Linked DNA regions of Homo sapiens: region 1 is linked to region 2. The links are contacts of gene promoters, found by promoter capture Hi-C in human tissues and cell types (Jung and others, 2019). All regions are on one chromosome and are shown on one strand. Each heading gives the region's core, a stretch centred on a gene start or on the middle of the fragment in contact. The rest is flanking DNA. Distances are from core to core; before and after follow the strand shown.

Region 1 (5,148 bases), core at 73-2,572, 170 kb before region 2:
CGCTGATCTGACAGGAGGCGGAGCTCAGATGGTAATGTGAGCGATGGGAAGCAGCCGTAAATACAGATGAAGCTTCGCTCCCTTGCCTGCTGCTTACCTCCTGCTGTGTGGCCTGGTTCCTAACAGGCCGTGGAATTTTACCAGTCTGCAGCCTAGGGGTTGGGGACCCCTGCTGTAAAGTATTCTGAATGAACTACACTGTATCCATTATACTGATGATGAATATTTGTGTTATTTCATATTTTTATTATGAATAAAACTGCTATGAACATGCTTGTACATGCCTTTTGATAGAAGTAAGCAATAATTTATTTTGGGTACTTGAGTGTCCACATATGTGTTTAGCTTTAGTAGATACTGCCAGACAGTTTTTCCAAGCAGTTGTTGAATTTACACTCCCGTCAGCAGTGTAAGAGTTCCAGTTATTTCACATCCTCGTTAGTACTTGGTGTTGACAGTCTTTTAATTTTAACCTATCATGGCTACTAGGGAAAGGGTTAAATTGTTTCTGAGAAGCCTGCCATAGGATATTTACCTGGCCTGAATCTATTAATTGCCTGTCTTTTAGTTTGATTGTCCAACTCACATGGTTCCATTTTGTTCTCAGTACAAGTACTGAGTAACTTAAGTAACTTGGTGGCATGCCTTTACTGAAATCCAGATGTATTGTTGTGTTAGGCTTTTTTAGTTGGCAAGGACCAGAGATATTAGCAGATTATTATTGTGAAGACTGTATTGTACTTTAGCATAAGTGAGGAAAACAGGTGAAGCAAATGCCTTATAAAAGAACAATGGGAAAGTCATTTAGAACCCAAGGCAACTCAAAAGCCTAAACCTTCTTGAGCCCTCAGCAGTAGGATCTATTGATTCTTCCTTTAGAACTCACATCCTGGTGACTTAGCTTCACTTTACTGTTCCTTCCTGCTGCTTCTGACTCCTCTGCTTGTACCTCCTCCTCATCTTAACCTTCCTTGTGTCTATTTCTTCCAGCTACTGCTCCAGCTACCAACTGGAGGACTCACTCCCTAGAACTGTTTCAAGGCAGAATTTTCACTAAGCCGTTTCACAGGCTGTGGTCAATCTATGCATTAATCCACATTGAGACAGGTGTCCATCCATAGTCCAATTAGGTTTGGCCCCAGGAAGCAGGACTGCATGGTATCAACACGGCCATTTATGATGAAGACATTCCCTTAGAAGGGCACTATGGGAAAAGCAAGCAGTCTGACTGCCTGGCTAGTTTAATTGTATATATTATAGCCTAATTACTGTGTATATTATATTCTAATTCAGTAGACATTTCTCAAGCCCTCTCCTTATCTGTCAATAAACTATTGGAAAAGGAAATGAACTGTTTATACTGAAGAAGGTTTTTTTGTTTGTTTGTTTTGTTTTGTTTTTAGTCTCGCTTTTAGTACTCGCCCAGGCTGGAGTACAGTGGTATGATCTCGGTTCACTGCAACCTTCGCCTCCCAGGTTAAGTGATCCTACCACACCACTTCAGTCTTCCAACTAGCTGGGACTACAGGCACACTTCACCACGCCGGGCTAATTTTGTTGTATTTTCTGTAGAGACAGGGTTTCGCCATGTTGCCCAGGCTGGTCTTGAACTCATGAGCTCAAGCTATCTGCTTGCCTCAGCCTCCTAAAGTGCCGGGATTACAGATGTGTGCCACCGTGTCCAGCTTGAAGAACTCTTCATAGTGAACCTATGCCAGTTGCTAATGCTTATAGTCTCCTTTCATATGTTCTCAAATAATATATAAGTCCTAAAATGTATCTGTAGAACAGGGTCAAGCCCAAAGTGAATTTTATTCTGTAGATAGCAGAGGTTAGGATGCGTGAGGTATACCTGGTTGTTTGAATTCCGTTTTACAGATGAGGGAACTGAGGGCCAGAGGGAGGCAAAGAGATTTACCCAAAGTCACATGGCTAGGAAGTGGGGGCGGGGGGCATCAGGACTTAAATCCAGGTTTTCTGGTTCCATATCCAGAACTCTCTCCATTACCTCACACTGACATGCCCCATACTCGTGTCCAAGCTGTTAAAAGCACAAAGGAGATTTGATAAAAGCAAACTATAGCCAAGGCAAGTGGTGAGAATTGAGAGGAGGCAGATCTCCTAAAGGCTGAGGTGATCTGGGGGACTGCCTCAGGTTTTGAACTAGGCCTTGTAGAGTTGGTTGGATTTAGAATGGTATGGAGAAGGGAGAATGGTACAAATGAAGATACAAAAGTGGGGGAAATGAGATTTTTCCAGAGACAGAAAAGAGACTCGTGTTGCTGGGTTAGAGGGTTTATTTAGGAAAGGAGTGGTAAAATGTGTGTTAAACAGTAATGAGACTTTGATAACTGTGACAACTTTAATTAAAAAAAAAATCAGATCATGCCCATGCATGTACGGTGGGTCATGCCTGTTATCCCAGAACTTTGAGAGGCCGAGGGAGGAGGGTCGCTTGAAGCCAGGAGTTCAAGCAGTCTGGACAACATGATGAGATCCTGTTCCTACAAGAAGTAAAAAAAAAAATTGGCCAGGCATAGTGGTGTGTACCTGTAGTCCTCGCTACTCAGGAAGCTAAGGCAGAAGGGTCGCTTGAGCCCAGGAATTCGAGGTTATAGTGAGCTAGGTTCACACCACTGCACTCCAGCCTGGGCAATAGAGCAAGACCCTGTCTCTAAAAACAAAAACAGATCAGATCATGATATTATGGTGAGAAGAAAGCTTAAAGTCATTGGTTGCTAAGACTCCAGGCTGAGGCGAAAAGGACTAAACTAAGATGATAGCAGCTGGAAATAAGTCAGACTTGAGAACCATTGAGAAGGCAGGATTAACAGGATCTGGAGACAGCCTAAATATAAGGGTGGGAGAGAGATAAGGAAAAGAGTTAGAACTGTCACTTGAGAGTTTGAGCCTTTGTGACAGGGACACTCTGTATCAAAAGAGGAGAGTATCAGAGGAGGAGGAGGCAGTATGTGTAGTGAGTTAGCTTACAGGCTTTGGACCAAAGCAGACCTGGGACCAGTGACTTAACTGCTCTGAGCGGGTTTGCTGGCCTGCTATGTAGGGAGACAGATTCCCACTTCTCAGAGTGGCTGTGAAGATGGGAGGTATTGCAGGTAAAGTGAAATTCTATAATGTCACATGCTTGACATCCAGGCACTTAACCAAACTTTAGCTCTCTTCTTCTCACCCCAACTTCTCTGGAAGATAGCAGAACCTAGTTCAAGCTCATTTTTTTCACAGGCATACATACAATGTGCTTTTTTTAAAAATGTATATATAACATATACACATATATATGAAATAAAATACAAATTCAAGCCCACAGAGAGAGTTAAAGATATCTTAGTAAGGCTAGGTTCTTCCAGAAGCAAACAGCCGTGCTGCCTCTCTGGTGTCGCCATGGCCTTCCCCAGTTGGGACCATTTCTGAGCTTAGAGGTGGAACTCTGGTGGCTCACTGGATTGCAGTGTGCCTGTAAAACGTGCCCAGCTTCCAAGCACTGCGTTTCTAATAGTTTGGAAATTCTGGTTGTCACCCCAGAGATACACGGATGGAAACCGGGTTTGGGCAGAGCTCTAGCAAAGGCGGCACCGAGACGCCCATTCCCTCGCCCTGTTAACCCAGGCGGCGCAGGCTGCCCAGCCAGCTGGGGCTGCCATTCTGGAGCTGCTTCTGGTACGCTTCTCCCACCCTGGCGGCTGTGCCCGCCAAGGGCTCGCAGTGCGGCACAGAGCATAACCCAGTACCGTACCAACCTAAACCCCGTTACTCCCCTTCCACCCTGGCCATCATGTGTTTCCGCACGTACGCCTCGTTGCCATAGCACCTGAAGGCGCCCGGGCTCATTGGCACCCGGCGAGAACCAATCAGCAGGCCTCGCTGTCCATCTGGCACCCTGGGTGGCCTTTGGGCTGCGGCTGGCTACCCCTCTCTGGTAGAGGAAAGCGGCCCCTGGCTGGTGGCGTGGGGCTGGCCTCGCCTCACTTCCTCTCCTTGGCGTACCTGACCCTGAGTTCTGGTCCGCAACCCGGTGTTCGTTTCCCACCCCACTCTTCCGCGCCCCGATTTCCCCGTTTAGAATGTTCAGATTTGAACAATCTGGCGGCGTTCTGTCGCCATGGGTATCCATGAGGAGGGCAGGCGACAGAACTTTGTTGCCACTTTGCAGCCGTTCCCCTAAGAAATATCCCTGGAAACAGCTCCTTGATCATTCCAGAGGTGGGCACTCCTAGCCCTAGGCAGGATGTTGTTTGGGTCCTATAAATCTAGGGCTCTCCCAGGCTTACGTCCCTGGCACTGGGCTTGCCAGATGTAAGGGAACTGGATGGGTGGTTTATTTCCATCTAATATGAGAAAAAGAAGGGTACATACCGTTTTGAGGAAGAAAGCTTGAACCTGAAGGATCACAGAATCCTGCACCTCCGCTAGCTGTGAAACACTGCACAAGTTACCTTGCTTCCCTGAACCCCAGCAGCTTCATCTGTAAAATGGTTGTAACAAAGGAATCTCTTAGGTTTTGTGTAAGTCTATATGAGATAATATAGGTAAAGCAGTTAGCCAAGTGCCTGGCCTATAAGTATTCTATAAGAGCCAGTCAGCTGTTTTTACAAACAGGTACAACTGTACTGCTAAGAACCAAAGTACTCACATCCAACAGTTGGCAAGCATTTTCACATTCATCCAATTTTTGCTTAAATTATTCGTTTGTTTTAACTCATTAATGCATTCAACATGTATTTACTGAGCATATTATCAGTCAGCTCTTGCCCTGGTCCAGCTGTATTTTCTAAGACCCCACCCCTAGGAGAGTTTTAACTGGCCTTGCAAGAACTGATGAAGTCTAGCCTGGTGGGTGGGTGGGAGATCTTATCCCTCTGGCATTGGGGTTTCGGAATTTGTTTTTTGCAGCTCTGACTTCGCAGGCTGAGGTCCCTGAACAGAGCAGACCTCTCTCATTTCTGGGAAGCACTAAGACAGAGCAGCTTTCCACAGCCACCTTTGCTTCTCACCCCTTACCCTTGGGGAGTTGTGTCCCCCTTCTCCAGAAGGCCCCAATCAGCAAGCTGGAACTTGCTTTTTCTATAGTGGGGTCCTGTTTCCTGTAACTGACTTCTGTTACAGTCTTCTGTGCTTTGCTGTGCTGGA
Region 2 (4,926 bases), core at 1,507-4,006:
GTAATGTAGTCAAGGTCAGAGGAACTTCCTCACGTACTGGAGAAATTTGCACCCCTCCTTCCTTCCCCAGGCAGCAGGCTTCCTCCTTGCAATCCGCCTGCCGCCTACAGGCGTCGCTGAGGGACAGCTGGCCCAGTTTGCGGATTTTCCTCCGGATCCCACACCCATGTCCAGGGAAAGCCGGAGCCACGGCGGTATAAATTAGCGCCTTTATTTTGATCACCTGAGCGAGCGCCCGCGGCTCGCCCGCCTGCGGTATAAACGTACAAATTCCCTGTAGCACCACACACCATGCCTCAGAGATAAATACAGCCCCAGGGGCTCCTGCTCTGGCAAAGCAACTCTTATTTACAGGAATAGATTACAAAAGTATTACAAAAAGTGGTCCTGAACCGGGAAACGGGTTGGGGGTGGGTTACGGTTACACCTGCTACATTTGGGACCGGAGTGCACTGGGTCTCACGCCCCCCCAAATAACCGGTGCATCCCGGGGCAGGGCTTAGGTCTGCGAGGGTCTCACCCCCATGGGGGAGGGCGCGAGAAAGCTGAACCTAGCCCCTCAAGGTTCAGCTCTGGCCCACCGAGGAACACGGAGCGGCCATCGCAATGGGTCTCCGAGAAGGGTGCTGCGTGGAAAAAACCGCGCTGTGTCCTTGCCCTGTGGGGCGGGGGCGGAAACTTCAGTTCTCCCGCCTCTCCTACCTCAAGAGAGGTCGCTTTTAAAGCGCTGTTGGGAGGGGGGCATTTAAGTTCAATCTTTTGGGCGCGAGGGACCCTAGGGGCACCATCCCTCGGGCGGGTGGGCGGCCACCATCCCCTCAGAGCACCTGGTATATCGGGTTGGGGTTCGCACCCGCAGGGCACTGCGGGGCGGCGTCCGGTGACTGGGTGGGGTCGCCGCTGCTCTCTCCCTCGCTGGGGGCGGCAGCCTCTTGCCTGCGCGGAGGCGACTCAGAAGGCACGTCCGCCAGCAGGAGGGCGGGCGCCGCAGGGCTCTCGGTGGAGATGCGCTCCACGATGCTGGACAGGCAGTCTAGGCTCGACACCGCCGCACTCTTCCCGGGCCTGGGTTCTGCGCGGGGAGGGCTCGGTTAGTAAGCAGGGGTGGGGCCGCGACAAGCCTCCCACCCCCGGGCCCAGTACTTTGAGACAGATTGGAAACTGAGGACTTTAGTTAGAGTCCGGGACAATCCAAAAGACAGGGAGCTACTTGCTTAGTATTTCATCTCCTGCACCACTTCCCAGGACATAGGCGTGTGTGAGTGGGGGTGGGAGCGTCCTAGATAGAGGCCAGGACAGCTCCATGAAGGAGGAGGAGCGAGCAGGGAGAGGCCCGGAATACCCACCGCTGGGCGCCTCGTTGTAGTAGGCGCCTTCGTAGCAGTTCCGCCGCCGGGCGCCGCTCGGGGGGCCGCTGTAGTCCATCTGCAAACAGCAAGGGCGACTGAGTCAGGCCCGCGGGACGGCTCGAGGCCCGAACACCAATTCCTGTAGCCGCCCCCTCCCTAACTCTAGCCTAAGGCTCTAGTTCCGGGCCCAGACCTGTCCTGGTTGGGGGGGTAATTACGGGTGGGTAGGAGATGAGGTCTGCAACATGCAGGGCCAAACCAAGGGCGGACAGTCACCAAGGGGCGCAAATTTACATTTTGGAAGTAGGGATAAGTAGAGAAAAAGATCTTCACGTTCGCGCTGCAGTGTTCTAATAGCGCCCCCAATGGGGCAGCTCGAACGCTTGCCCGCACACTTCCAAAACAGGCTACCCCAGTGACAGCTGCCCAGGACAAGGGGGTCCTCTCTCTCGGGAAGGATCCTGGCCCAAACCTCCCGCAAGGCCAGCTCCCCGCCCTCGGAAACGCGTCCCTGATATCCCGAGCGCCGCCCTAACTTCCTCACTTCCTGGGGTCCCGGCCTTACCATGCCGTCGGAGCAGTTGGAGCGCGGGCTGGACGCGTCGGAGTCGCCGCTGTAGTGCTCGCCGCCGCGGCCCGGGGGCAGCGGGCCCGGCGCATAGAAGGCGGCTGCGGCGCCAGGGGGCGCGGCGTCCTGGTCGCGCAGCAGAGCCTGCAGGCCCTCGATATAGCGGATGGCGTTGCGCAGGATCTCCACCTTGGGCAACCGCTGGTTTGGATTGCTCGACGTGCAGCGCTTGAGTGTCTCAAAGGCCTCATTTACTTTGCTCAGGCGGCGCCGCTCGCGCATGGTGGCGGCCTTGCGGCGGTCGGCGTTGGTGGTCTTGCGCTTGCACGCCTTGCAGGCCCACAGTAGGCAGCGGCCCGCCTGGTGGTGCCCGCTGGGCGCGCGCACATGCTCGTCCTCACGTGCGCCCGGGGCCGGGTGCACCGCCGCGGGGAAGTGCGAGTGCTCTTCGGGTTTCAGGAGCGCGCCCACGTGCATCAGGCGCGGGTCCAGGTCTTCGAAGAAGCGCAGGTCCGGGGAGTCGAAACACGGGTCGTCATAGAAGTCGTCCGTTGTGGCAAAGGAGCAGAGAGAGCCGTCGGGGGCCGTCAGGTCTACGTCGCGGAGCGGTGGCGACAGTAGCTCCATATCCTGGCGGTGGCGCGGCACGGTCCTGGCTTCGCCCAACCCAAGCGGCAGAGAGTGGCCGGAACTTTCTGCCGCTCGGGAGCCCCGGCTGTAGATAGCAAAGTGCTGGCAGTCTGAATGCCCACCCACTGTCCCCCACCCCTCCCTCTCCTGTCCGGCCTGATTTGTGGTTAAGGAAAGCGGCGGCAGCGCCCCAGGGCTTCCTCACCCCTAGCTTCTCGCCAGGCGCCCTGGGCTATTTATCCGTAGTAGCCTAAACGCCCCGGAGCCCAGGCGGGCAGCTGGGGGAGGGGGAGTCCGAGGCCAATAGGAACACTGCGGGGCGGGGCTTGGGGGGGTCCCCGGGGTGGCCGCAGGGGCCCGCAGACTGGCCAGCCAGCCCGCCCCTCCACACTGGCGTGCGCGCTAGGTCCCCTACCGGGCAGGGAGGGAGGGAGCGACCGGCAGCCCTAGGCGGCTGCACTTGGCTCTCCGGCACGCCCTTTCCAAACCTCTCCAACACCCGACTGCTGTATCCGCGGGAAACGCTGGCTGCGCGCGCTCACCTCTGAGCTGACTTTCAATACTCCTCTGTCCCCTGATTTGTGGGGGACCCATGGGTAGAGCGGCTGTAGAAATCAGGTCGTGAGAGATTTGGAGAGAGGCAAGGCATTGGGGGCACAGAGCTGAGGAGTGAGACCGTGAAAGAGGGACCGAAAGAGGCTGAGAGACACGCAGAAAGCAGAAAGCTTAGAGCGTCAGGGGCAGAGAAACGCACGAGTGCAACAACAGGCGGAGAGACCCCGAGAGTTGAAGTGGGCGAGCCCGAGACAAACGGGTCGTAGAGGCTCTGATATTCCGCCAGTCCCCGACCTGGGAGTTGCTCAGCAGGTCGTGGGCCCAGTCCTTCTTCCCTAGACGCTTAGAAACCCAGCTATGGTTGTACAGGAATCGGAGATTGCTGCTAAAGCTTCGCGCCAATCTCTCCAAACTCGGATCCTGCCCAGGTTAGGAATCCCCTCCATCTAAATCTGCACGTTTCCACAGCAGGGGTGTCCAGTGCCATGCCTGGGGTCTAGGCTGAGCTGCCTCTTCAGCTGGGAAGAAAACCCTTCTGCTCGGGGCTTGGCTCCGCCTCACTCGCGGTGCTGAGTCAAGGAAAGTGCATTTCGCCAAGGTGTCAAACTTCAGGACCTGGCCTGAGAACCTGACCTCATCTCACCTGAAGTCTCCGAGAGTGCGGTTTGCAGACCAGTTGAGTGCAGACTCCAGAGTTTCCCAACTGTGTGATTTTGTGGAAGTCATGTCTCCTTCCTGAGCCTCAGTTTCCAGTTATAGATTTGGGGATGACAGTAATTTCTTGGAGTAATTGTGGTGGGGATGACAGTCTGAAGAGACCAAGGATATGGAAGCCCTCAGGCGGTGATGTAGGGTTATTCGAGCAAGGGGCTTTCAGAGTTGGATGCTGTGTCCCGCAGGCTTACAACTCATCTGTGGTACCATGCCCTGACGGAGTGCCACGAGTCTCCAGGCCTTAGCTGTGTCTCTTTCCTGCAGCCTCACTGGAAAGGCTGGAAACAGGAGGAGGCAACCACCCCATGGGATGTGGGATATCTGGCTCCCATACAAGCCTCAGCATACCGGCCACCCCCATGGGGGTCTCTCAGCCTCTTCCTGAATCTGCAGTTCACACAGTCCTCTCAGCACTCTGGCTAGGAATCTCCGTTGGCCATACATCCCTGCCTGGATCTCCCCTCCTGGAAACCAGAAATTTAAGCAGGAGTGATCTTTGTGCCTTTCCCACTAACTTCTGGAAGGCATTCTAGCTGGCCGTTCTGGGCCCTAAGAAGTCCTCCCTTCCCACAAAACTCAGAGGGCTCTGTTGGGGTCCTAACTTCTTCACTTCTCTGCTGCTGGTAGTGGTGCTGAAGGTCTCCCTTCATGAAGTACTCACCTCGCTTTACTCCATAGGGCCCACCTGTATTTGTTCATTCAGTAAAGTCTACATCATGGAGCAGCAGTGACAGTAACTCTAAATCCTGGCAGAGGCAGCAAAGTCCTGGCCTCACCCCACCCAAGCTGCAGGGGGTCACCCGGAAATCCACATATTGTTAGGTATCCATTATGTGGCAGGTACCAGTCCAAGTGTGGGGCTAGAGCAATGAACAAAACCAAGACTCTGCTTACATGGCACTTACATTGTCAATGTAAGCAGGGTGATAGACAATGAACAAATAAGCAAGGAAGTATGTGATGCCAGGAGGTTAGAAGCCTTATGAAGAAAAAGCAAGGCAGGGAGACACAGTGATGAAGATTATGGAGTGATTAGAGAAGGCCTCTCTGCTACATTTAAGCAGAGACCTGAATGAAGAGAATTGGAAGCAGATACCTGGAGATATGTAG

What was found. The method cuts DNA at HindIII sites, captures the fragments that hold promoters and counts their contacts. A contact is called where the count stands out against the background at its distance.
Region 1: a contact is called between a fragment that was not itself captured here and the fragment with the promoter of MYOD1 in region 2, in 2 of the 25 tissues and cell types used here (H1 embryonic stem cells and mesendoderm cells).

The regions. Positions count from the first base shown.
Region 1 is chr11:17,882,867-17,888,014 of GRCh38, reverse strand. The region is part of intron 9 of SERGEF (secretion regulating guanine nucleotide exchange factor); the gene reads left to right. Among named protein-coding and RNA genes, the nearest start is that of SERGEF, 130 kb to the left of the region's middle. The HindIII fragment of the contact is 4,469 bases long and covers 1-3,556 here.
Region 2 is chr11:17,717,401-17,722,326 of GRCh38, reverse strand. MYOD1 (myogenic differentiation 1) reads right to left here and starts at 2,756. Exons shown (of 3, transcript NM_002478.5): 1 at 1,915-2,756; 2 at 1,347-1,425; 3 at 191-1,072. The coding sequence starts at 2,544. The coding sequence ends at 819. RefSeq lists enhancers at 784-1,295, 1,296-1,807. The HindIII fragment of the contact is 9,376 bases long and covers 1-4,926 here.